Regions from separate parts of the Homo sapiens genome. Here regions 1, 3, 4, 5 and 6 are each linked to region 2. Evidence: promoter capture Hi-C in 16 types of primary human blood cells and fetal thymus (Javierre and others, 2016). All regions are on one chromosome and are shown on one strand. The core of a region is centred on a gene start or on the middle of the fragment in contact, and the rest is flanking DNA. Distances in the headings are between cores, read along the strand shown.

Region 1 (4,032 bases), core at 1,030-3,529, 200 kb before region 2:
ACCCCATCTCTACTAAAAAGACAAAAATTAGCCGTGCGTGGTGGCTAGCGCCTGTAATCCCAGCTCCTAGGAGGCTGAGGTAGGAGAATCGCTTGAACCTGGGAGATGGAGTTTGCAGTGAGCCGAGATCGCACCACTGCACTCCAGCCTGCATGACAGAGCAATACTGTCTCAAAAAAGAAAAAAAAAAATGTACTTTGTAAATTGCCTTTTTCACTTTAAGTGACCATTTCCTTGTTTTAAAGAATATCCTCGGCCGGGCGCGGTGGCTCACGCCTGTAATCCCAGCACTTTGGGAGGCCGAGGCAGGCGGATCACAAGGTCAGGAGATCGAGACCATCCTGGCTAACACGGTGAAACCCCGTCTGTACTAAGAATACAAAAAAATTAGCCGGGCATGGTGGCGGGCACCTAGAGTCCCAGCTACTCGGGAGGCTGAAGCAGAATGGTGTGAACCCAGGAGGCGGAGCTTACAGTGAGCCGAGATCGCGCCATTGCACTCCATCCTGGGCGACGGAGCGAGACTCCGTCTCAAAAAAAAAAAAAAATAATAATATCCTCATACATAAATCTTTCGTGCACTTTATGTGTTTAAAACTGCTCAGCATCATATTACTAGGTATAAGAGAATAAACACTTTTAAGGCCTTTTTATTTTTTGAGACAGGGTCTCACTCTGTCACTCGGGAGTGCAGTGGCGTGATCTCAGCCCACTGCAACCTCCGCCTCCTGGGGTCAAGGGATCCACCCACCTCAGCCTCCCGAGTAGCTGGGACTACAGGTGCGCATCACCACGTCCGGCTAATTTTTTGTAGAGACGGGTTTCGCCATGTTTCCCAGGCTGGTCTTGAACTCCTGGGTTAAGCAATCCTCCCACCTCAGCCTGGCAAAATGTTGGGATTAGGGGCGTGAGCCACTGCACCCGGTCTAAGCCTCTTAATACATGTTGTCAAATCATGTTTTCCTCTCAATAATACCAACATTGGATTTTAAACATTTACAACATTTACAACATTTTAAAAAGTTCCACCAATGTAAGACAAGATGCGTTGTCATTTTTTTTTTTTTTCTTGAGACAGAGTCTTGCTCTGTCGCCCAGCCTGGAGTACAACAGTGCGGTCTCAGCTCACTGCAACCACCGCCTCCTGGGTTCAAGCGATTCTCCCGCCTCAGCCTCCCGAGTAGCTGGGACTACAGGCACATGCCACCATACCCAGCTAATTTTTGTATTTTTAGTAGACACGGGGTTTCACTATGTTGGCCAGGCTGGTCTCGAACTGACCTCGTGATCCGCCCGCCTTGGCATCCCAAAGTGCTGGGATTACAGGTGTGAGCCACCGTGTCCGGCCAGATATGTCATTTTAAGCGGGGCATGGTGTTGCATGTCTATAGTCCCAGCTACTCCAGGAGGCTTGGGCAGGAAAAGTGCTTGAGCCCAGGAGTTCGAGGTCAGCCTGGGCCACATAGTGAGACCCGTTTCTAGGGGGGAAAAATGTCATGTCATTGTATTAACGTTTCTTCAGTTGGCTACTGGAGCACTTTTAAGTAGTTGCTCTCAAACATAGCTCAGTGGCTGGTCATGGTGGCTCATGCCTGTAATCCCAGCAGTCTGGGAGGCTGAGGTGGGAGGACTGATTGAGGCCAGGCGTTCAAGACCAGCCTGGGCAACACAGTGAGACCCCCACCTCTATTTTTATAATTTTTTTAAAAAAGAGCTCAGCGATAAAAAAAAAAAAAAAACAAAACTGGAGTGAAACAAAATGAACAATTTGCAGTGAGATTATGGACATGATTTTACATTATAAAACAATGTCTCATAAAACAATATCCCAGCAGTTTTATGATACTTCCTTTATATATTACAAGTTGTTTAAAATGCTCAAAATTGGCTTTAGTTTCCACGGTGGGCTACAGCTAAAGCAGCACTTAGAGGAAAATTTAAATATTTACATTTACATTGGAGGAAAAGTGTTACAAAGCTGGGGGAAAGGAGGAAATTAAATAAGTAACAGAAAGGAAATACTTCAGAGCAGAAACCAATAAAACAAAACAAACCGGGCACGGTGGCTCATGCCTGTAATCCCAGCACTTTGGGAGGCCCCGGTGGGCGGATCACAAGGTCAGGAGTTTGAGACCACCCTGGCCAACATGGTGAAACCCCGTCTCTACTAAAAATACAAAACAAATTAGCCAGACATGGTGGCGCATGCCTGTAATCACAGCTACTCGGGAGGCTGAGGCAGGAGAATCACTTGAACCCGGGAGGTGGAGGTTGCAGTGAGCCGAGATCGCACCATTGCACTCCAGCCTGGGCAACAGAGCCAGATTCCGTCTCAAAAAGAAAAAAAAAAAAAAAAAATCCAAAACCAAAACCAAACAAAAAACCAGAAAACAATGGAGAAAATAATGTAAAAAATTGGCTCTTTAAAAAATTAACTCAATTTCTAACCCTTTAGAAAGACTAATCAAGGAAAAAAAAGAAAACACAAATTACCAATATTGGTAATAAAAAGGGACCCTGCCACAGATCATATAGATATTGATAGGGAAATACTGAAAAAAATGCTTAAAATTCAGTACTAACACCACATAAACACAAAATTCACAGTGACAACACACTTATTTAAAAGACAGGGTCTTGCTGTCACCCAGGCTGGAGTGCAGTGGCATAAATCATAGCTCACTGCAGCCTCAACCTAGGCTCAAGCGATCCTCCTGCCTCAGCCTCCCAACTAGCTGGGACTACAGGTGCACAGCACCACACCAAACTAATTATTATTATTTTTTAAGAAACAGGGTCTTGCTATGTTGCCCAGGGTGGGGTCAAATTCCTGACTTCAAGTGATCCTCCTGCCTCCTGCCTTGGCCTCCCAAAGTGTGAACCACCTCGCCTGGCCACACTTGTCATTATACCAGCAAATTTTGTGAGAATTACATATGCATCTGCTTTTGCAATAAATGCATTTTTCAAGTACAGAACACAGGTTTACAACATACATCAAATCAAAATGGTAAATCTGAAGCTACTTTGTAATTAAAAAGCAAAATTAGCATCAAGTGAAAACTGTAAACCAACTAAATGCTACACTGATGAAGCTCTTAAGTTTCCTCCTAGACTGCATATTCAAACTATCAGCTTGTGCCTATGTTGGTATTAGCCTTTAGGTAATGCAAACTTCTTAGAATACTAAATTGGAATCCTTAGAAAATTCTAATAAAGTGCCAATTATGGTTTATGATTACTGAATTCTAAGAAATAAACCTTACTCTTTTAGGTTGCTAATAATAGTGGGAAGAAAGGATACGTCTTTTTGGATGAGTGTCCCCGCCCAAATCTCATGTCGGATTGTAATCCCCAGTGTTGGAGGTGGGGCCTGGTGGGAGGTGACTGGATTATGGGGGTGGTTTCTTATGGTTTAACACCATCCCCCTTGGTGTTGTCCCAATAGTGAGTTCTCCTGAGATCTAGTTGTTTAAAAGTGTGTGGCACCTCCCCTGTCTCTCTGTTCCTCCTGCTCTGGCCACGTGAAGTGCTTGCTCCCACTTAATCTTCCACCTTGATTGTAAGTTTCCTGAGGCCTCCCCAGAAGCCAAGCAGATGCCAGCATCATGCTTCCTGTACATCCTGCAGAACCATGAGCCAATTAAACCTCTTTTTAAAATAAATTACCCAGTCTCAGGCATTTCTTTATACCAATGCGAGAACAAACAAATACACCTGGGATCCTGGCTCCCAGCTTCCGATGACTTGTTTCATGAACACTAATGAACGGGCAGCACAGGGAGCAGGCATCCTCAGCTGCTCCTGGATGGCATCTGGATGGCGGGACATTTCATTTTTGCTTTTTTTTTTTTTTTTTGAGACAGAGTCTCACTGTTTCGCCCAGGCTGGAGTGCAGTGGCGTGAACTCTGCTCACTGCAAACTCTGCCTCCCGGGTTTATGCTATCCTCCTGCCTCAGCCTCCCAAGTAGCTGGGACTACAGGCGCCCGCCATCATGTCCGGCTAATTTTTTTGTATTTTTAGTACAGAC
Region 2 (4,524 bases), core at 973-3,472:
TTCTTCCTTAGCTTCAGGGGCACATGCCTGACCCTGGTCCAATAGATCCAGAATGGTTACAAGGATATCTTGACTTATAAGAGATGCCACATAAGAATTTTGACAATTCAGTCTTGAAGTCTGCTCACTTTGACCCAAACTTTTTAAGCCAGTGACATGCAGAGGGTCCACTGGGGCTGGATGAAATTTCTATGGACAGAGATGTCACAGAGCTGGGAAGGAGAGAAATAGCTCTCCAGTCAATGTGACTGAGAAAAATTAGTCATATCACTCTGAAACATGTGAACTTGAGGGTTAAGGATGCTGGCATGCAGGGAAGTCATGTGTGCAGCAGAAGAGCTGCAGGATGTCTTCTCTTTTGTGTTAATGTGAGATTACTGAGGACAAGAGAATAGGTCCTGGGAGATGTGGGTGTATTTGCCAATTTCTCACCACACATAGCCTCCTCAAAAAGCCCCCAAAGATGGCCAGGTGCAGTGGCTCATGCCTGTAATCCCAGCAACTTGGGAGGCAGAGGTGGGTGGAGCACCTGAGGTCAGGAGTTTGAGACCAGCCTGGCCAACATGGTGAAACCCCGTCTCTACTAAAAAAAAAAATACAAAAAAAAATTAGCCGGGTGTGGTGGTGGGTGCCTGTAGTCCCAGCTACTGGGGAGGCTGAGGCAGGAGAATCACTTGAACCCAGGAGGCAGAAGTTGTAGTGAGCCGAGATTGCGCCACTGCACTCCAGCCTGGGTGACACAGCAAGACTCAGTCTCAAAAGAAAAAAAAGCCCCCAAAGATGAACTTCACCTAGTTGTAAGTGGTCTAATAGTCCTCCGTCTCTCTCTCTATATATATATTTGAACTTCAAAACTAGTTTTTTCGAAAAATATTTTTTAGAGCCAGGGTCTCACTCTGTCACCCAGGCTACAGTGCAGTGGCCCAATCATAGCTCACTGCAGCCTCAAACTCCTGGGCTCAAGTGATCCTCACTTCTGCCTCCTGAGCAGCTGGGTCTACACGTGCACACCACTGCGTCTGTAACTTTAAAATTTTTTGTAGAGATTGGGTCTCGCCATGTTGCCCATACTGGTCTTGAAATCACGGCCAGAAGCAATCCTCCCCCCTTGGCCTCCCAAAGTGCTGGGATTACAGGAGTGAGCCACCACATCTGAGCCACAGGGCGGCCTCCATAATGGGGCATGAGCCTCTTCCCATCTTTTTTTGTTGTTGTTATTCGAGACAGTCTCACTCTGTTGCCCAGGCTGGAGTGCAGTGGTGTGATCTGTGCTCACTGCAACTTCTGCCTCCAGGGTTCAAGCGATTCTCCTGCCTCAGCCTCCCAAGTAGCTGGGATTACGGGCACATGCCACCACACCCGGCTAATTTTGTTTTTGTTTCTGTTTTTTTTTTTTTTACTTGAGACGGGGTTTCACCATATTGGCCAGGTTGATTTCAAAACTCCTAACCTCAAGTGATCCACCCACTCCGACTCCCAAAATGCTGGGATTACAGGCATGAGCCACCACACCCAGCCCCATCTCTTTTTTTTTTTTTGAGACGGGGTCTAGTTCTGTTCCCCAGGCTGGAGTGCAGTGGCGTCATCACGGCTCAATGTAGCCTCAACCTCCAGGGCTTAAGCGATCCTCCTGCCTCAGCCTCCCAAGTAACTGGAACTACAGGCATGTGCTAATTGTTTTTATTTTTAGTAGACACGAGGTCTCTCGCTATGTTGCCCAGGCTGGTCTGGAAACCCAGAGCTCAAGCAAGCCTCTCACCTCGGCTCCCAAAGTCCTGGGATTACAGACGTGAGCTACTCTGCCTGGCCCTCAAAAAAAAAAAAAAAAAAAGTCAGTTGACAACCTATTAAACTGATATCTGTCACGTTAATGGGTCATGACTAGCAGTTTGAAAGACAAAGCTCGATTTCACTGAATTTATTTCAGCAACAGAAGTTATTAGCTTTAGTCCAATCTCAAAAGTACAAAATGAAATTGCAACACAAACCTCTAAACCTGCAGTTGCCGGAAGCTAAACGTCTGCGCTTCCGGAAGCAAATTTCCAACTACCACTCCTCTGGAAGCAGGACCTGGCTTCCTCCCTCCTCTCTCCGCCCACCCTCGTCGGCGTCTGCCCCGCGCCCGCCATAGCGACGGCAACGGGCGCTGCGGAGTGCTCCGAGCCGTGAGGGCGGGGCCGGCGCGATGCCCCGCCCCTTCGATAGCTCATCTTTGCGCGTCGCAGTCGCGCGGAGCCCGGCTTCCGACGTGCAGCCTGGCAGTGCAGTGGTGAGTTGGAGCGCAGGGCCGTTGGGGATTGGGGTCATTAGGGCCGTTGACAGTCCAGGCCAGAGGGCGAGTGAGCGAGGTTGGGCCCGAGGCTGCCTGTAAGCAGGTCCGTTCAGGGATGCTCCAGGCCCTGGGGCCTGAGGGTGGCTTCCATGGCTCCATTTGCCCTGGCTGTTCCTCGGTGTACGGGGCCTGAGGGGAGTGGGGGAGGCCCGTGGGTGGCCTCCTTTTGCGTCCTGAGAATGTTCTGGGCAGTATCGAGATTAGGGCTGGTTTCTCTGCGGAGGAGATCATTTATCCGTAGCTGGGAGGGCTGTATTAACCGAAGTTTTCCAGTAGTGGGCCACGCTGTCTTAGGTAGCGTGCTGGACAGATACAGACATCACTGGACGGGTACAGACAGAGGCTGGGTTCGCTTTACGCCAAGTACCGTGCAATACTGTGGGCTGTTGACTTGCCTGAGTAGTTTCATAGAGGCATCTGTAGTGTTCCTTGGAAACACTGAGTCAGTGATGAATTCTGCCTAGGAAATTTAGGGAAAAGTTTCCCAAAGAGAGAAGATGGCAAGAGAGGGCTAAGGTCTAAAGTCTCTTAGCTCTGACCTTCATAAGACCCTGAAGTAAGAGGTAGTGTATCTTGGTAGCCTATACTATAGCTTGTATCCACCTTTTAGTGTCCCTTGGGGAAGCTTCCTTAACCGCTTCTAAGCCTCCCTTTTCTTACTAGAAAAGTGGAACTGATAATAAAAAAATAGTAGTTCCCCCCTTATCTGCGGGGTGTACGTTCCAGTGGATGTCTGAAATCTTGGATAGTGAAGGACCCTGACTGACTTACCGTGGTTTGACTTACAATTTTTCAACTTTACATAGGTTTATTGGGAAGTAACCCCATTGTAAGTTGAGGAGCATCTATACTGTGTTTTTTCTCATACAGATTACACATACATACCTGTGATTACTTAGTTTAATTCGTAAATTAGGCACAATAAGAGAATAACAACAATAATAATAAAATAGAATTATAACAGTGTAATAAAATGTATGTGAATGTGGTCTCTCTCAAAATATCTTACTGCACTCTACTCACCTATTTTTGGACTACGGTTGACCTCTGGAACTGTGGAAATCAAAACCTCAGCTAAAGAACTACTGTACCTAGTAAGCGGGGTTATGAGGTTTCAGTGAGCTAAATCTTTGTGTATTACTTAAAATAGGACCGGATTCATTGTACATCCTCAAATGTGCACTCATTGATAGAATCACACCCTTGTCTTTTGGAGCCCGGGTTTTTGGAAGCTGGCTTACCGCAAGCCTTCCTCCTTTTTTTGTTTCTATCCATTGCCAAATGTGAGGCCCAGAATGACAGGGAAGAGGACAAGCCTGTGCTTCAGCAGGCAGAAGGCTGTGCTGAAGCAGAGGTTGAATACCATTCCCATTAGCCAAACTGGCTTGAGCACTTTCCTGTCTTTCCTACCCTGGGCAGAAAGAACCCTGTTCATGGGTCACAAATGAATAAAACACTACCAACCTGTCTGTAATCCCAGCACTTTGGAAGGCCAAGACAAGAGGATCGTTTGAGGCCAGGAGTTTGATACCAGCCTGGGCAACATAATGAGAACTTGTCTTTACAAAACCAAAACAAAACACTACCAATTTGAGATCTTCATAGGCAAGGATTAGTTATAAATTGTTTGTTTGTTTGATTTCCTGTTATTGGAAAACCTTCGGCAGCTTTTTAGGCTGGCAGATTTAAAGAAAGTAACCTGAACCTGGATGCCTTAACTGTGTGGTCCCTTAAACTGCCAATGGGTAGAATTGCGAGGGCCGTGAACTTGGCTGAGAGGAAAAATTGCATCTTTATGTTTCCTAACCTCCAACTGAAATTTAGCATTTTCTTCCACTGTGAATGTAGGCAACAAATCACATTATTAGCAGTGTGACTTTGTTATGAATATAAATTATAGATATTTTCATATCATGATATTGTGTAAGCTCATTGCAACTTCGAAATTATGGTAGTTATTAAATTTGCTTCTAGATCACATATATAATGTGTCAGTAAAGAAGCACATATGTTTTTGTATTTTGATAAAATTTTAGCATACAGTCTATCCTCATTATTTGTGGATTCTGTATTTATGAATTCACCTACTTACTAAAATTTGTCTGTAGCCCTCAAATTAATACTTACAATGCTTTTGTGGTCTTTGGAAGACATGACATTTTTTCACGTGAAAAATTTTAGTTGCCTGATGC
Region 3 (3,987 bases), core at 920-3,419, 170 kb before region 2:
CATTCTTAAAAACTCTTGAACTCCACTATATTTTGTTTAAATTTAAGAAATACAAATGTTAGTATATAAATTTGTGCTCACAATCAAGGTGTAATATTAACATTAAAAATATTTTAACTAATGTTCAATATGGTAAATACAAAGTTCATATCACATAGTTAAAAACAAATATACAGATACTGAACCTAAATGTATTTTTTATTAAGACAAAATTAATTTAGGTCAAATAAAAATGTTCAAAAAGTCCAGACAAATGGCAGTATTCAACTGCGTTCCAAAGATTCTCAGGAATGAGAAGGAAGAAAGGCTCAATGTACAAGGCCCTCCCTCCAAGCTCTCTCTCCTAAACTAGAGCCACTGTTTTCATCTTTCTCTACACAATAGGGTTTCCAATTAAGATTTCATTTGAGGAACAAAAGCGTTCTACTACTATAAAACCTTTAGAAACTACTAAAGTGGCTGGGCAGAGTGGCTCATGTCTGTGATCGCAGCACTTTGGGAGGCCAAGGCAGGCAGATGGCTTGAGGCCAAGAGCTCGAGACCAGCCTGGCCAACATGGCAAAACCCCGTCTCTACTAAAAATACAAAAATAGCCAGGCAGTGGTGCACATCTGTAATCCCAGCTACTCAGGAGGCTGAGGCACAAGAATCGCTTGAACCCAAGAGGCAGAGGTTGCAGTGAGCCAAGATCACACCACTGTACTCCTGTCTGGGCAATAGCAAGACTCTTCCTCAAAAATAAATAAATAAATAAATAAAATAATAAATACGGCAGGCACGGTGGCTCATGCCTGTAGTCCCAGCACTTTGGGGGGGGCCGAGGCAGGCAGATTGCCTGAGGCCAGGGGTTCAAGACCAGCCTGGCCAACATGGTGAAAACCTATCTCTACTAAAAATACAAAAATTAGCCAGGCGTGCTGGTGTGCGCCTGTAATCCCAGCTACTCGGGAGGCTGAGGCAGGAGAACTGCTTGAACCCAGGAGGTGGAGGCTGCAGTAAGCTGAGATCACGCCACTGGACTCCAGCCTGGGTAACAGGGCGAGATTCTGTCTTAAAAAAAAAAAAAAAAAAAAAAAGGAAAAGAAAAAGAAACAAAGATATAAAAATTGTACCTATCATTAGTTTATATATTACAATACAAAAATTTCCCTGAATCATTTATACCTTAAAAAACTGAAGCCTCTCTCGATTTCTGCCGAATTCTACTTCTTGATTTTTTAACACTGTTTCAGGTCTAAAAGGAAGAAGAGCTGGCATTAAACGTATGTATTACAAAAAAGACTTGCCTTGTTTCTTTCTAAGTCATCGTTCTTAGGCATATATATACACAAATATATTCTTAAAATCCTTGGAAGAACTATTTACTAGGTTTCTCAGAATTATTTTCTTTTTCAACAAAGTTCTGCTTTAAAATAACACACCGGAAAGCTACAAAAGTGAGTTGTATTTTACTGAGTGTAAGAAAGCCACATTACACCAATGTCCAAAACTGTACTCAAGTGATAATAAAAACACACTTTGTTGGGTTATCCGCTGCAAGAAAAGAGGAAAGTAGTAGCTTCAACGACAAGCATGTACTTTCCTCCCCACCTGGCTCTTGTGCCAATTAAACTAGGAGATGGGTGCTGATTATTTCTATGCAGCATTGACGAACAACATCTCAACATCATTTTACAGTTTAAAAAGAGCTTTTGGCAAAAATCTTTCATTCATCTCATACCAAAAGAAGGCTCTACTTTATGTATAAGTAGCAGTTCACTTTACATGGATTATAAATATAGTTTACATGAATTATTTAAACTAAGAGACAAAAATAATTGACCTCTAACCAGTAACATAGTATCATTTTTAAAAAATTATTTTTATCTAATAGTTATTTTTAAAAATTATTTCAAACAGCTTTAAGCTGCTTCTTTTACCTGCCAGCTGGTGACTGGGTGTTGACTAGAATATCAATATAACTTAAATTATACGTGTCCTCCAGGGACCAGATAATTAGTCCAGATAATTACAGTTGTTTAATTGTCAACCTTTTTTTTTTGAGACGGAGTTTCGCTCTTGTTGCCCAGGCTGGAGTGCAATGACATGATCTCGGCTCACTACAACCTCCGCCCTACCGGGTTCAAGCGATTCTCCTACCTCAGCCCCCTGAGTAGCTGGGATTACAGGTATGCACCACCACACCCGGCTAATTTTGTATTTTTAGTAGAGATGGGGTTTCTCCATGTTAGTCAGGCTGGTCTCAAACTCCCGATCTCAGGTGACTGATCCACCCGCCTCAGCCTCCCAAAGTGCTGGGATTACAGGTGTGAGCCACCACACTCGGACAACTTTTTTTTTTTTTAAACAAAGATTACTTTAATAATTCATAGTTGAGTCATCTTTTGAAGCCAAGCATATCTTAGTGAGATTTTTCTCAGGGCCTCAGGGAAAACAGCTTTCTGAGCCACTCCAATTATTTTACCTTTCAATAGCACTTATGGCTACAAAGTGCCATACAAACATTTATTGGCTCATAACCTGACTTCAAACTAGGGGGTAATTTGAAGTGCCAAAGGTTATGCTCTCATCTTTCTACTCAACTTCTTAAGTCAATAATTAATACTTCACTGACACATTAAAAGATACAAATGAGTAACTATTATCACATAGCCAGGAACTACAATATAATCTATCTTAATACTTTGTAATTCGGAGTCAAAATTATGGGGAAATGTTACAGCAGATTGGATTTTTAGAAATAAAAATATAGCACTAAGCACTTACGATGTGCCAGTTATAAAAAGAAACAAAAACTAAAGAAATCAATGATTTTGAATCAATAAATCTTCCTTTTCAGGAAATTAATTTCTGTATAAGAGGTGTTAATCTCAAAAGTCAACATGCTCCTAACAACCAGGACAACTAGGCAACAGGAACAAGAAAGTGACTTCATAAAACTTTCAAAATTTGATGGCAAAAGACTCAGAGATTATACTGAATCCTTAGAAAGGAAGAGCACACGAGGTCACTATAACCTGTGGCTTCATAAAAATATTAAGCCCAATATTTTAGAACTAGACAGAATTTGGAAGATCCAGTCAGGGACAAAGGAATTAACGTATTATTTGGTACTTAGGATAAATGAATGGACATTACTCTTAGCTACTCTAAATCTTAAATGTGTTAAACTTTTTAAAACCTAAAGTGCAAGTAATTTTTTACTAAATTAAAAAAAAAAAAAGCCAGGTGGAGTGCCACATGCCTGCAGTCCCAGCACTTTGCGAGGCCAAGGTGGGATGACTGCATGAGCCCAGTTCAAGACCAGCCTGGACAGCATAGTGCCCATCTCTACCCCAAAAAAAGGTAGATAAAATAAGTCAGGCCTGACAGTGTGTGCCTGTAGTCCCAGCTACTCTGGAGGCTGAGGCAGGAGGATCATTTAAGCCTAGGAGTTGGAGGCTGCAGTGGGCTACAGATGGTGCCACGGCACCTCAGCCTGGGTGACAGAGAGACCCTCCATCTCAAAAAAAAAGACAGTTTACTAACAATGGGATAAATTGTTATATTTTACATGAATTATTTAAACTAAGACAAAAACAATTCACATAACTCTCTTAAAAATAAAAATATGGCTGGGCACAGTAGCTCATGCTTATAATCCCAGCACTTTGGGCAGCCAAGGTGGAAGCATCACTTGAGGCCAGGAGTTCGAGACCAGTCTGGGCAACACAGTGACACCCCCTGTATACAGAAAAAATCAGCCAGGCATGGTGGTGCATGCCTGAAGTTCCAGCTACTTGGGAAGCTGAGGTGGGAGGATCACCTGAGTCCAAGAGATCGAGACTGCAGTGAGCCATGCTTATGACACTGCACTTCAGCCCAGGCAATAGAGTGAGACTCTGTCTCAAAACAAAACAAAACAAAAAAAACCAACTTTTGAAGGTCAAGGCAGACAGATCGCTTGAGCCTAAGAGTTTGAGACCAGCATGGGCAACATAGTGAGAC
Region 4 (4,426 bases), core at 1,130-3,629, 150 kb before region 2:
TTTCTGTAAGTAACACAACACCTGTGTGTGCAGGTGTTACCTGGCCTTCTTCAACATTACCCTATAGAAACTAGAGCTTGGGAAACCAACATAAATACTGTTAATAAGGATAATGCTTTGCTGTGAGTAATAAACTGTCCATTGTCTCTGATCCAGGAGTTGGGTGCCTCCTGCCAACATACATGAAACTACGTCAGGCTAATTTGTTAACTTCCAAGGAAGGTAAAATTTTAGATCCTTTATAGTTCTTTTTCATTTTTTTAAAATTGAAATGGGGGTCTCACTATGTTGCCCAGGCTGGTCTCGAACTCCTGGGCTCAAGAGATCCTCCCGCCTCAGCCTCCCAAAGTGCTGAGATTACAGGTGTGGGTCACCATGCCAAGCCTCCTTTATAGTTCTTAACACTTCTAGGTAGGCCTATCTTCCTTGTTAACCTCTACTCCTTTATCTGATATCTAAATGTAGGAGTTCCTCAGAGTTCATATTGAGACTCACTTTTTTTCTTACTCTATACTGCTTCCTCCAGGGAGTACAACTGCTCCTATGGCTTCAATTATCACTACATCTACACTAATAATTCCAAAATATTTTCTGTAGTCCAAGTCTGTCTTCTAAGCTCCAAAACCACATGCCCGATTCAGGAGGTGAACATGTTTACTTTAATACTGGTATGTTCCCAACTTCACTAGTACCTAAACTTGAACTCAGTGATTTCCCCTCTGCCCCTTCCCCTTATCATCACCTCATCTTCCATTCCCTAGCACAGTAAATAGCACCACCATCCTTCCAGATGTTTATGCCAAAACATCGAGGCATTTTCCTCAATGCCTCTCTCCTACATCTTTTTGTCTTCTATCAATATCACCATTAAATCTAGTCCCAACCACCAGTACATCATCTCTCACTTAGGTTCCCTAGGTGGTCCCCCAACCCTATACTGTGATTTTCGAAATGTGGTCCTAAACTGCTGATGCCTTAGCAGGACTCAAAGCAGTGGCACCAAATTGTACTACAGGTTGAGTATCCCTAATCCAAAAATCCAAAATCCACCAGGTGTGGTGGCTCACTCCTGTAATCCTAGCACTTTGGGAGGTTGAGGCGAGTGGATCACCTAAGGTCAGGAGTTTGAGACCAGCCTGACCAACATGGTGAAACCCTGTTGGACGCAGTGGCTCACACCTGTAGTTCCAGCTACTAGGAAGGCTGAGGCAGGAGAATCGCTTGAACTAGAGGCAGAGGTTGCAGTGAGCCAAGATTGTGCCATTGCACTCCAGCCTGGGAGACTAGAGTGAAACTCCATCTTAAAAAAAGAAAAAAGAAAAAAATCCAGAGTGCTCCAATGAGCATTTCCTTTGAGCGTCAGTGCTCAAAAAGTTTCAGATTTCAGATTTTCAGATTAGGGATACTCAACCTGTAGTACTCGTATTGTTTACTGTCACACAAAATACCAGTTTCACTTAAAAATGTCCCTAAGAAGCAGAAAAACTGTTAATTTTATTAAATCTCAACTGCTGAGGTCAAGTCTTAATATTCTGTGTGACAAAAATGAAATATATTTATACAATATTTCTACTCGAAAACAAAGTACATCAGTTGCTTGCAGAAAAACTCTTGTATGATTGAGCTGCAAGCTAAAATTAAGCTTTTTTTTTTTTTAAAGAACAGTTTTTCACTTGAAGGAACTGACAAACTATGGTTATTCAAATGTGTACATTTGGCAAAAAGTTTCTCAAAAGTGAATGAAGGCTGAGCACGGTGGCTCACACCTGTAATCCCAGCACTTTGGGAGGCCGAGGTGGGTGGATCATCTGAGGTCAGGAGTTCGAGACCAGCCTGGCCAACATGGTGAAATCCCATCACTACTAAAAATACAAAAAATTAGCCAGGTGTGGTGGTGGGCGCCTGTAATCCCAGCTACTCGGGAGGTTGAGGCAGGAGAATCGCTTGAACCTAAGAGATGGAGGTTGCAGTGAGCCGAGATTGAGCCACTGCACTCCAGCCTGGGCAACAGAGCAAGATTTGAATGAAATAAGCTTCTACAGTCTGCTCATTACATTATTGGTCTTTGAGAAATAAGAGTTCATCAAGTTATGCAGAACTTCCAAAGGTGGACACCATTACATTGTATATTAAAATACACACACACACACACACACACACACACACACACACACACACACACACAAATTTGTTAATATCACCACAGCCCTCTCAACTTAGGAGCTGGAGTTCCTACATAGCTGTACACTCTGAAGGCATCCTGCCTGTGCCAGTACCTGGACTGAGGCACCCCCGTAAAGAAGGCCTGCTGCTCTGACAGCACGTGGACTACATCTGTAAGCTGCCTCGAGGGTCATATATTGAGCTGTCACTCCTTCTACAAGCCCCGACATGGCCCATGAGCTCTGAAGGGCTCTTGCCCCCTACCAGCATCTGTTTTCCCAACGCATGCCCACACCACTAGTTCCTGATCATCAGATCCCTGCCTGCACTCCAGAGGGTGGCCTACTGCCTACCCAGCAACTCCAGACCAGCTCCAACCTGGCCAAAACCAATATACTTCTCTGTTATCTGTGGGCCAACCCACACCTATTCCAGTGAGTTCTGAACCTCTTCCAAGTTTGTCCTTCCTTGGGTATTCTCCCTTAGCCCTACAGTATTATATACAATTATCCTGTATTACAATTACTCTTACCATAGTTAATAATTATGTATATTAAGCTTCCTCTGTTTAACCTATTATGTGGTTTCTATCTCCTGACTGGACCCAAATTGCTACAACATAGTACTGTACTTCACATATACTTTCCATGTATGTCCCCATTACTAAACCGTGTCTTTTCTTTAGCACAGATGCTATCTTAGCCATCTTTCATTTGCTAGAAATATACAAGTACTCAATAAATATTAGCTCAATAAATTAAATCATATTGTTTAGAGACTCATGCAACAAGTAAAAAAAATGCACTGGATTACGTCTGCCTCTTCTAATCAGGAATTTCTAGAATTCTATGAATCCATAAAGCTAACCCTTTAAGGACAGGTAATTAAAAACGCCATGGAGGAACTGGGATGATGGTAATTTAAACTGGTTTAGTATAGTAATTCGTGTCATCACACTTCTAAAATAAGCTGATAACAATAAATATCCTTTTGATCAGTTACTTAGTGGAAGATCCAATAGGTGGTTCGGCTCTGAAAAAAAAATGCTGAGGTCTGCTATTTGTATACGGGAAGCATCCGATGAAAGGCAAACCAAGGCTCCCAAGACTGCAGATTCTACTATTCAAGGCTAAATAGCTGCTGCAAAGATTAGAAAACACAGTGTATCTCTCAGTACAGAGGTCACAAACTCTGTTTCATGTCTGCTGGCTTGCAGACATGTTTTGCTTGTTCTGCAGAGTTTTAACATTTTAAATTTAACTGCCAACATTTAAAAAACTACAGGTCTTTCAATCAGAAAACTTTACAATACCAACCTTGTACTTCTGCTGGAACTTAGTAAGCACCTACCTCTCTATATAGGACATGTGCCTTCCTGTTTGCCACACAATTCCCAGCAGAACATTTCACTTGTTTACGTTGCCTCTCTGATCCCTATAAACATGAGCTTGCAACCCCTGCTGTAACAGGTTTTTACAAGCATAGGTTTTGGAATCAAGATTTTTGTTCATGCTTCTGTTCCACCACTTAGTAGGTAACGGTAATTAGTTGTGGGACCTTGGCCAAGTGTATAACAGAGCTTATAGAACTGGATACGGTAAATACATACTCAACAAATACTTAAAAAAATTTTTTTTATTACTGACATTACTAAACCGGGAAACAGAATGGTATTGGAAAGAAAAGGCGTTGGTCTTGAAATCAGAAGATATGAGTTTAAGACTAAGTTTCCTCACCTAGAAGATATGTTGTGACCTTAGGCAAATTACTCAGATTTTTAACCTTATCTGTATTATCTGTACACAACAGATTTAAAACTATCTTCCGTGCTTATCATGAAGCAGCACACTGAAGTAAAAGGGTTTTGATATTTGCAGAAATGGAAAATTCCAAGTTCAAGCAGTAGTGAAGAAATTACCCATAGGGAATATTAGTACTCTAGTAAGCAGGCTTTAGATAACTACATGTAACAGAGAAACCCATCAGCCTGAAGGAAGGGGGAAAGACTCTGAAGCCACAGGTTCTCTAGGCCTGCCAAAAGCCCTCAAAGAGATTCCATCTTTGGAGTCCAGACTGGGAAAGGGGGCTAGGACACCAGAGCAGAAACCAGCCAGCATAGCTACAGGGTAAAGCTAACCCTGCTGAAGGCTAGGGGCCTGGAGAAAAGATAAGGAAGCTGTTCTAGAAGGCCCTGTAATCCCATCAGGCCTGGCAACAGGACTAACCCATGCCTATGTCTGACTAGAGTCAAGTAAGTGTTTCT
Region 5 (4,008 bases), core at 392-2,891, 240 kb before region 2:
CATTATTATGTAAACAGCAGTTAGTTTCCAGATTTGAAAATGTTGTTTTGGACTTTCAATATCCTATTAATAAAACGAGGGTAATCTACATGGTGGAGGAACACGTTCATTCATGAAGCAAGAATGTATGAAATTCTAGTGTTCTATACTACTGTAGGATTAATATAGTTAACCATAACATATTAGTTTCAAATAGCTAGAAGGATATGGAAGGCTCCCAACACAAGTGTTTGAGATGATGAATGTGCCATTTACCCTGATCTGATCATTATGTGCACTGAAACATCATTATGTACCTCATGAATATGTACAATTCTTATTTGCCAATTAAAAAAATTAAATTTAATTTAAAACAAAGGGTCTATTTTCAATTTTTTACTACCTCAAAAGGGTTATAACTCATAAAATGTCTTAACTTTTTCGAATAAAATTTTCAAAAAAATTAAATACCTCCAAATTGTGTATAAGCTTGTTTGATATCACACAGCGCTGTAACCAACTGCTCACAAGGTATTGGCTCCTGATACTGTAATAAATACCTAGGATAAAGAGATGGGCACATTAGTAGTTTTCTCTAAAACACAGACAGACTCTAAGGAAAATATTCTCTGAAAAGCAATCTATGCCATGGGGACAACCTAACAGTCATTTGTAATTTGAAGGGGAGGGAACAAGTCAACATCTGAATATTCTCATAGTAAATAATATTTTGTAAGTTTGGTTGAAAAAAATCTGTAATTTTCAATTCAAAGATTTTTAATGACTTTAATCTTTGCAAAAGTGAGCTCTCCTTAGAAACATCAAAACTAGGCCAGGTGCAGTGGCTAATGCCTGTAATCCCAGCACTTTGGGAGGCCAAGGCAGGCGGATCACGAGGTCAGGAAATCGAGACCATCCTGGCTAACACAGTGAAACCCCGTCTCTACTAAAAATACAAAAATTAACCCGGTGTGGTGGTCAGCTACTTGGGAGGCTGAGGCAGGAGAATCGCTTGAACCCGGGAGGCGGAGGTTGCAGTGAGCCAAGATCGTGCCACTGCACTCCAGCCTGGGTGACAGAGTGAGACTCTGTCTCAAAAAAAAAAAAAAGAAACATCAAAACTAATTTCTGTATCATCAGTTATGCTATTTATGACCATACCTTTGAGCAATGAGCCTTAGTTCATTAGTCAGAACATTAGCATCAGAAGTTATGCCTGCCACACTGCAAGCCATGTCCCTTGAAGAAAAAAAGACATTGATCTGTAAGCAGGGAAGATGCTTGCAAGGAGTGTTTATAAGTATTTAAAAAATTCTAATTTCTATTAGAAATTCACTATGTTTGCTTCACAACAGCTACTTCCTTCAGAAAAAACCTACAAGTTTTATCTTTGTAGGAGATGTTTACTCGATGTCACTCAACATGAAAGATAAACAAATGCACCCTTTAAGTTATTTAATAGATGTATTTATCATTACCACCTATGAATAGGATAACAAAATTAACGCCAAGAAGCTAATGTAATCTCAAGAAGATTCAGCAACAAAGAATAAAAAGACAGGCTTGCCACAATGGCTCACGCCTGTAATCCCAGCACTTTGGGAGGCCGAGGTAGATGGAGGGCTTGAGCCCAGGAGATCAAGAACAGCCTGGGCAATACGGCAAAATCCCATCTCAACAAAATATACAAAAACTAACTGGGTGTGGTGGTGCGCACCTATAGTCCCAGCTACTTGGGCGGCTGAGGTGGGAGGATCACTTGAGCCCAGGAGGCAGAAGCTGCAGTGAGCCAAGATGGCGTCACCGTACTCCAGCCTGGGTGACAGAGCAAGAATCTGTCTCAAAAAAAAAAAAAAAAAAAAGATTTTGCTAGACAGACTGCTCTTGAGTAATATTCATTTCCTAAGGCCTGGCTTGACAGAGGTGACAGGGGACAATGGCAGGAGGGTTTACAAGCCTGCTTAGGAAGTACAGGGCTAGGCTCCTACTAGAGGTGCATTTCATTTTTTTGGGCCCACTTCCTGAGGGCTGCCCTGGCTCTCTTATAGCTGAGACTCGCCCTGTGACTACGCCTAGCCAAGCCTGCCAGCTGTTGAGTGGTCCCAACAGAGGCTCTGTGGAGGGGTGACACCACTTTGGACAAGTTTATCAAAAGGCCCTGATAATCAGCATTTACCAAGCCCACCACCACTGAAAGGAAAGTCTCTACTTAGCACGGTCAGCTCTCCATGAGCTGCAAAGTTCTGCACACTCAAATATAACAAACATTTCACACAGTGTACAAGGCTTGGCTAAATTCTTCGAGACCTCTAAGAGGCTTGTTCTTTAGTAAGATTCAGTGTAATTCAACAAAATCCTGCGTAGCTATTCTAAACAATACTTTGAGGGCCTACTAAATGCCAGATACTATACTATTTTATTTCATTCATTTTATTTCATTAAACTGCCACAACCACTTTAGGAGGCTCTGAGGCCCAAAGAAATTAAATAATCGGTGCAAGGTCACATAGCCTGCATGGGTGAAGCCTGGAGTTGAACCCAAATCTGTGTGACTACTAAGTCTGTACTCTTATCATTACACAATGCTAGTTTCTCCACTAAGTGTTTGCCCTGCACTTAAAAGGAGTAACACATGGTACCAGGCCTCAAAGAGGTTTCAAGCAAAATAAAGGCACAATTTCAATTCTACCACATCGCACGGAAGAGCCCTCCCAAATTACATAGATCCCACTTATGTGAGAAAGTGAGATTTTTTTTAAACTCTTTCCTAAAATCTCACTTACTCATTGAGTTTATAAATTTTTTCAGAAAAAAAGACTTCATCAAGAAGCTTGTGGATGTTGCGTCTCTCTGCTGCAAGCAAAACACCATCATTTGCTAAAATTCCCAAACAGGTGCCTGCATGTCCAATAGCTTCCATGGCATATTCAACTTGGTATAAGCGACCTACAAAACAAAAGCAGTGAGAAGCCAAGACTCTCCTCTGTGCTCCTGCACCACTGGCCCAAAAGAAATCAGCAATGAAGCAAGCTAGAAACAAATTTCCACTTTCACTCTTCTATGGTATAATCAACCTGGTGATGATAATTGCTTCAAAGTACAAAAAGGATGAACTTTGCAACTACCAAAAAAAGTTTGTAATTTTTTTTTCTAAAAGTCTAACACATTTATTTTTAAACTTGAGGCAGATTAAACAATTTCTATTTTACCTTCTGGAGAAAATATAGTGGTCCTGGAGTCATATCTTCGAGACTGCAAAGGAAAAACACATGAGTGATTCCTACCCACTGAAAGTAGGCCAACTCCTGCAAGCCTACAAATGATCTTACAAAACCTATCCTGGTATACAAAGTTCAATAGGTGAGAGGAAACTGACAAGAAAAAAGGCACCTTCTCACTGCTTTCCTTCTATTTCAATTTTCCCACTCAAGTCTGTAAACTGAGTACAAGCAATACTGTTTATCAGGCAACCGTTTATTGGCATGTGTATTAACTCACCATGTTTTCTGAACTTTATATAGTTCCTGTAAAAAGAAAATCAGATCATCATTAAAATAAGATTCACAAATTAAAAAGCATTTGCTGACTTTACAAATCTGTTTTATTTACTCCCTTTATTCAGCTAAGTGTCAGGCATTATGCTAGATGCTGGAATACCAAAATGTGTAAAACCAGTTCCTGTCCTGAAAAGCTAATACTGGCAGTTAGGTGAGAGAGGCAGTCATAGATTATAATGTGGAAAGAGGAACCGGGGGTAGGGTGGGAAAAGGGATGATGAAAGAATCAAGAAAGTATTTTTTGAGAAATCGATACAGAAAATGAAAGTAAATCAGAGATGGGAGAGGCAGAAATAAGGCTGAGAACCCTTGGGTCTAAGAGAAAGAACAGGGGAAGAAAGAAGGGCATTCCACACAGAGCAGAAAGTATGAACAAAGGGTACGGAGGCAGGATAGTTTAGTGGGCATGAGATAAACTGCTGATGCTTTTAAAATATATATAAATAAGAGCTAAGCGAGTATCCAAATCACG
Region 6 (4,046 bases), core at 482-2,981, 170 kb after region 2:
CAAGGCACTCAGTCTCAGACACTCAGAGACAGACTCTCACCTCCAGTGTGTGGCCCTTGTGATAGAGGCAGGTGGTGGAGTGTGTTCTAGGGAAGGGCACTAGTGGGCAGTGGGAGGCCAGCAGGGAAGGGGGACAAAGTCCAGAAACGATACAGCACTTGAGCAGGCCTTGGGAAGATAGGTCGGGTTTTGCCCAGTGGGGCCCAGAGGAGGCATTCCAGGTGGAGGGGACAGCGTGGATAAAGGCTTGGGAGTGGGCAGGGGCAAGCAGGCAAGCCATGCTCAGAAGTGAGGAGTAGCTTCATGGGGGTGGGGAGCCCAGGTTCCCACTCCAACCAGCCTGGCATTGGGTTACTCATCGGAGCCAGTCCCAGTGTTATGTTCTGATTCTTTGCCAGAGCCTAGCTAGACCCTGCCAGGCGGGGTGGGAGAAATGAGAGCTGTGAAACCTGAGAGCCCCACATCTCCTACCCTCTGGCTCTCCAGCCAGCCATTGCCAGCCCGGGCTGAGTGGGGGTGAGCCTGAGTTACAGCACCCTCTCCCCTAAGTGACACCTAGGGTTTCTTGGGACCTCCCAGCCTGGTAGTCTAACCTTTCCTGGGCAGGGTGCACCCTCTTGGTTCCCGGTGCCGGTGATTCCCAACATTTAAGCTTCTGTCCAGAACACTCCTCTGCATTGTACGGCCATCCCCCAGACCCCTCAAACTCCAAAACAGGGGTCACAGCCTCTCCAACACCCACTGCTGCTCCTCCAGCCATTTCAACTCTCTGCTCTCCCTCAGCCCATGTTTTCAGTTAAGAACAAGGCCTGTGACTCAGCCTCTTTTGTGGGTCACCTGGAGGTCCCCTCCTCCATCACGACAGCCAGGGCCCTGGGCTAGGCCTGCTCAGTCTCCTGCAAACTGGAGGTCTGACTGCTCCCTCCTGCGCCCCTCCTGCCCATCCCCCTCCAGCCACCCGCCCTCTTAGTTCTCTCACTCTTCCTTCATCTCTTTCTTTCTCTTCCTTTTTTTTTTTTTTGAGACGGAGTCTCGCTCGCCCTGTCACCCAGGCTGGAGTGCAGTGGTGTGATCTCGGCTCACTGCAACCTCCGCATCCCAGCTCCGCCTCCCAGGTTCAAGCAATTTTCCCTGCCTCAGCCTCCCAAGTAGCTGGGATTACAGGCACCCACCACCATGCCCATCTAATTTTTGTATTTTTAGTAAAAACAGGGTTTTGCCATGTTGGCCAGGCTGGTCTCAAACTCCTGACCTCAGGTGATCCACCTGCCTTGGCCTCCCAGAGTGTTGGGATTACAGGTGTGAGCCACCGCGCCGGGCCTCCAGCCTCATTTCTTACTCCCTTTCCCTTTGCACCCAAAGTTTTAGGCACACTGAAGGGCTTCTAGCCAAGCCCTCCCTCACCTCTGGCCCTTGTTCTCCTGCTGCTCTCCCTGCTCCTTTGCTAACCTAGTCTGGCCCATCTTTCTGTCCAGGCCAGGCCTCACCTCTTTGGGACGGGCTCCCTGACTCTCTCTCCACCAATCCATTCAGCTGGGAGTACTCAGGGAGCCTGACACATATACATCCCCAGTCCCTTGTGTGGCCACAGAATGGTTTATACTGGGCACCTCACTGTTTACACTCCAGCTTCCTTCTTGTATGGCCTCTGTCCAGGCACAAAAGAGATGTTTGGAGGATGTTGTCAAATGAATGAACAAATATTTGTTAAGGCGTGGCTCCAGGAGAGCAAAGAACTCTAGACAAAGATTCTGAAGCCCTAGATTCAAGTCAGCTGGGTAGTTGATGCTGTGGGCCTTAGCAAGCCACTGTTCCCTTCTGGGCCTAAGTGTCTCCACCTCTAAAATGGGAACTACTAACCCAGCTGTGCTCATGTCACAGGGTTCTTGTGGGGATCAACTAAGATCACTGGAGACTGACCTTGAGCCGTGTGATGGTCCCCTGGGCAGTGCTGAGGCCTGAGCTGGCAGAGCTGGATGGAGAGCCATTTCCATTAGAGCTGGGAGGGCCCATGGCTCGGCTCCTGACAGCTGGCACAGGCAGACCAGGCATGTAGGAGATGGGAGGCAGGTGGGTTACCTGGAACAAGTCACCCTTGAGTTGAGCTTTGGAGAAAGGGTTTGGACAACCTGGAGAAAGAGGAGAGGGCACTCCAGTTGGGGAATAGGGTGAATATAGGCTCGGAGGCAGAACTCAAGCCTTAACTGGGAAAACGTCTGGGCTTCTACTGTAAAAGCCCAGCCTGTCCTGTTTTCTGCTGCCAATGTTCTGAGAGCCCATCACTCCTGGGTTAGGCCCCCTCTCTCCTTCCCTCCCTTCCACTCCTCATGACCCAGACCTGACCTTTGCCGGAAGACCTGTCCCTGTGTCCCTGTGTACTGTCAGGAACCAAGCAGTGATGGGGCACTTGCTCTCCAAAAGTGTAAGAAAGGGTTCCTTCAGACATAGGGCTGTAGCTCCCAGGGCAGCTGAGGGTGTAGTGGTGGGCAGGGTGTTTGGTGACTCCAGAGAAGGGAAAGACAGCAGAGCTACCGACTCTGGGGAGATGCCTTTGGGACCTGGGTGGTGGATGGAGCTGTTGTACTCTTTCCTATCAGCTGGGGCCTATAGACTTCCTGTACCTTATCTCATTTGCTCTTCACACTGTCCCCTTCAGAGAGGCCTATTTCCACTTTACAGATGCAGAAACTGAGGCTCAGAAAGGAGAATGACTTGCCTAAGGGTCTGAAGCTAGACTAGAATTTGACCCTGACTACCAAACCTTTTCCCCTGCCACACTTCTAGGCCACCCTGAGCCCTGAGAAGCTTTTAAGAACACCTGCCATATTCACTACCTGTGCACTGCCTCCTTGGGGTGAGTCCCAGGGAAACAAGTGAACAGAAGAAAAAGTGAAACATCAGTTGATGAGCAGGTTCATGGCAGTTTTGTCAGTGATGTTAAAACCAAGAAATAGGTGTTACTAAATGTTCAGAAAGAGAAGAAAGATTAAGACTAGGCAGGGACTCTGCAGCCACTGAAATAACGTAACTGCTGTGGAAGGCATAGATGGAAAAGTCTGGTCACTCATCCCACAAGCCTGTATTAAGCACCTGCTGTGTATAAGTATAGGAATACACAGCAGACGCAGGACATGGAGTGGCTGGTGTACAGTGGTCATGGCTCTGTTTGTAGTCATAGGCAGTGGCCAAGAAGCACAGAGGATCTTTTCTTGCCTCTGCTTCCTTGCCAGTGAGGGCCCCAAGGTCTACTCCCATTAAAAAGAAAAAAAGAAGGCTATGCGTGGTAGCTCATGCCTATAATCCCGGCACTTTGGGAAGCCTAGTTGGGTGAACACCTGAGGTCAGGAGTTCGAGACCAGCCTGACCAATATGGTGAAACCCCATCTCTATACTAAGAATACAAAAATTAGCCAGGCATGGTGGCGCATGCCTGTAATCCCAGCTACTTGGAAGGCTGAGACAGGAGAATCACTTGAACCCAGGAGGCGGAGGTTGCAGTGAGCTGAGATCATGCCACTGTACTCCAGCCTGGGTGACAGAGCAAGACTCCGTCTCAAAAAAAAAAGGGGGGGGGGCAGGGGAAAGGGAAGCACAGAGGCCTAAGTTCCATTCCCAGCCCTCCTGGGCTGTGTGTGCAACTTAAGGCAAGCTACTCAACTTTGCTGAGTCTCAAGTTGCCCATCTTTAAGATAGAGAGATAATGCCCACCCCCATTGGCTAATGATAAGGATTAAGAAAAATTGGATATTTAGAGCCCCAGGTGCCAGGTGCATGGTACATCATGTACTGGTTGTGATGTGGTTTTCAGCCTGGGTTGCACGTTGGGACCACCTGAGTGGCTTTGAAAACAGCCAATGCCTGGATCCATCCTTGGGGATTTCTCTACAATTTGTCTGGGGTCTGCTGAGGGATGGGGGACACAGGTATCCTAAACAGTCCCCCAAGTGATTCTGCTCTAGAGCAGACTTCCTCACACTTCAACATGCATCAGCATCATTGGGAGGGTTTTTTAAAGTGCAGATCCCTGGACCCCACCCACAGAGTTT

Evidence for each region. Contacts are between HindIII fragments. The CHiCAGO score rates a contact against its expected background, and 5 or more counts as called.
Region 1: a fragment that was not itself captured here is called in contact with the fragment with the promoter of SKIC8 in region 2 in 5 of 17 cell types (erythroblasts, M2 macrophages, megakaryocytes and 2 more); the score reaches 7.1 in erythroblasts.
Region 3: a contact is called between a fragment that was not itself captured here and the fragment with the promoter of SKIC8 in region 2, in 2 of 17 cell types (megakaryocytes and erythroblasts). The highest score is 6.3, in megakaryocytes.
Region 4: a contact is called between a fragment that was not itself captured here and the fragment with the promoter of SKIC8 in region 2, in 3 of 17 cell types (monocytes, endothelial precursors and M2 macrophages). The highest score is 6.8, in monocytes.
Region 5: a contact is called between a fragment that was not itself captured here and the fragment with the promoter of SKIC8 in region 2, in 10 of 17 cell types (erythroblasts, megakaryocytes, fetal thymus and 7 more). The highest score is 11.3, in erythroblasts.
Region 6: a contact is called between a fragment that was not itself captured here and the fragment with the promoter of SKIC8 in region 2, in 3 of 17 cell types (naive CD8 T cells, activated CD4 T cells and erythroblasts). The highest score is 6.0, in naive CD8 T cells.

What each region holds. Positions count from the first base shown.
Region 1 is chr15:78,501,632-78,505,663 of GRCh38, reverse strand. No RefSeq gene overlaps it. Among named protein-coding and RNA genes, the nearest start is that of HYKK, 3.9 kb to the left of the region's middle. The HindIII fragment of the contact is 5,564 bases long and covers 1-4,032 here.
Region 2 is chr15:78,297,307-78,301,830 of GRCh38, reverse strand. It overlaps SKIC8 (SKI8 subunit of superkiller complex), which reads left to right and starts at 2,222. Exons shown (of 11, transcript NM_025234.3): 1 at 2,222-2,269. RefSeq lists enhancers at 1,825-1,914, 1,090-2,056, 2,155-2,504, 2,057-3,024. The HindIII fragment of the contact is 6,178 bases long and covers 1-2,959 here.
Region 3 is chr15:78,467,779-78,471,765 of GRCh38, reverse strand. It overlaps IREB2 (iron responsive element binding protein 2), which reads right to left. Exons shown (of 22, transcript NM_004136.4): 6 at 1,165-1,234; 7 at 1-25. Among named protein-coding and RNA genes, the nearest start is that of IREB2, 32 kb to the right of the region's middle. RefSeq lists an enhancer at 3,927-3,987. The HindIII fragment of the contact is 6,487 bases long and covers 1-3,987 here.
Region 4 is chr15:78,448,584-78,453,009 of GRCh38, reverse strand. All of the region lies in intron 2 of IREB2 (iron responsive element binding protein 2), which reads right to left. Among named protein-coding and RNA genes, the nearest start is that of IREB2, 13 kb to the right of the region's middle. The HindIII fragment of the contact is 688 bases long and covers 2,036-2,723 here.
Region 5 is chr15:78,541,400-78,545,407 of GRCh38, reverse strand. PSMA4 (proteasome 20S subunit alpha 4) reads right to left here. Exons shown (of 9, transcript NM_002789.6): 2 at 3,478-3,503; 3 at 3,189-3,231; 4 at 2,763-2,925; 5 at 1,141-1,218; 6 at 451-539. The coding sequence starts at 3,480. Among named protein-coding and RNA genes, the nearest start is that of PSMA4, 3.0 kb to the right of the region's middle. RefSeq lists an enhancer at 3,816-4,008. The HindIII fragment of the contact is 2,341 bases long and covers 471-2,811 here.
Region 6 is chr15:78,125,670-78,129,715 of GRCh38, reverse strand. All of the region lies in intron 1 of CIB2 (calcium and integrin binding family member 2), which reads left to right. Among named protein-coding and RNA genes, the nearest start is that of CIB2, 3.8 kb to the left of the region's middle. The HindIII fragment of the contact is 2,153 bases long and covers 655-2,807 here.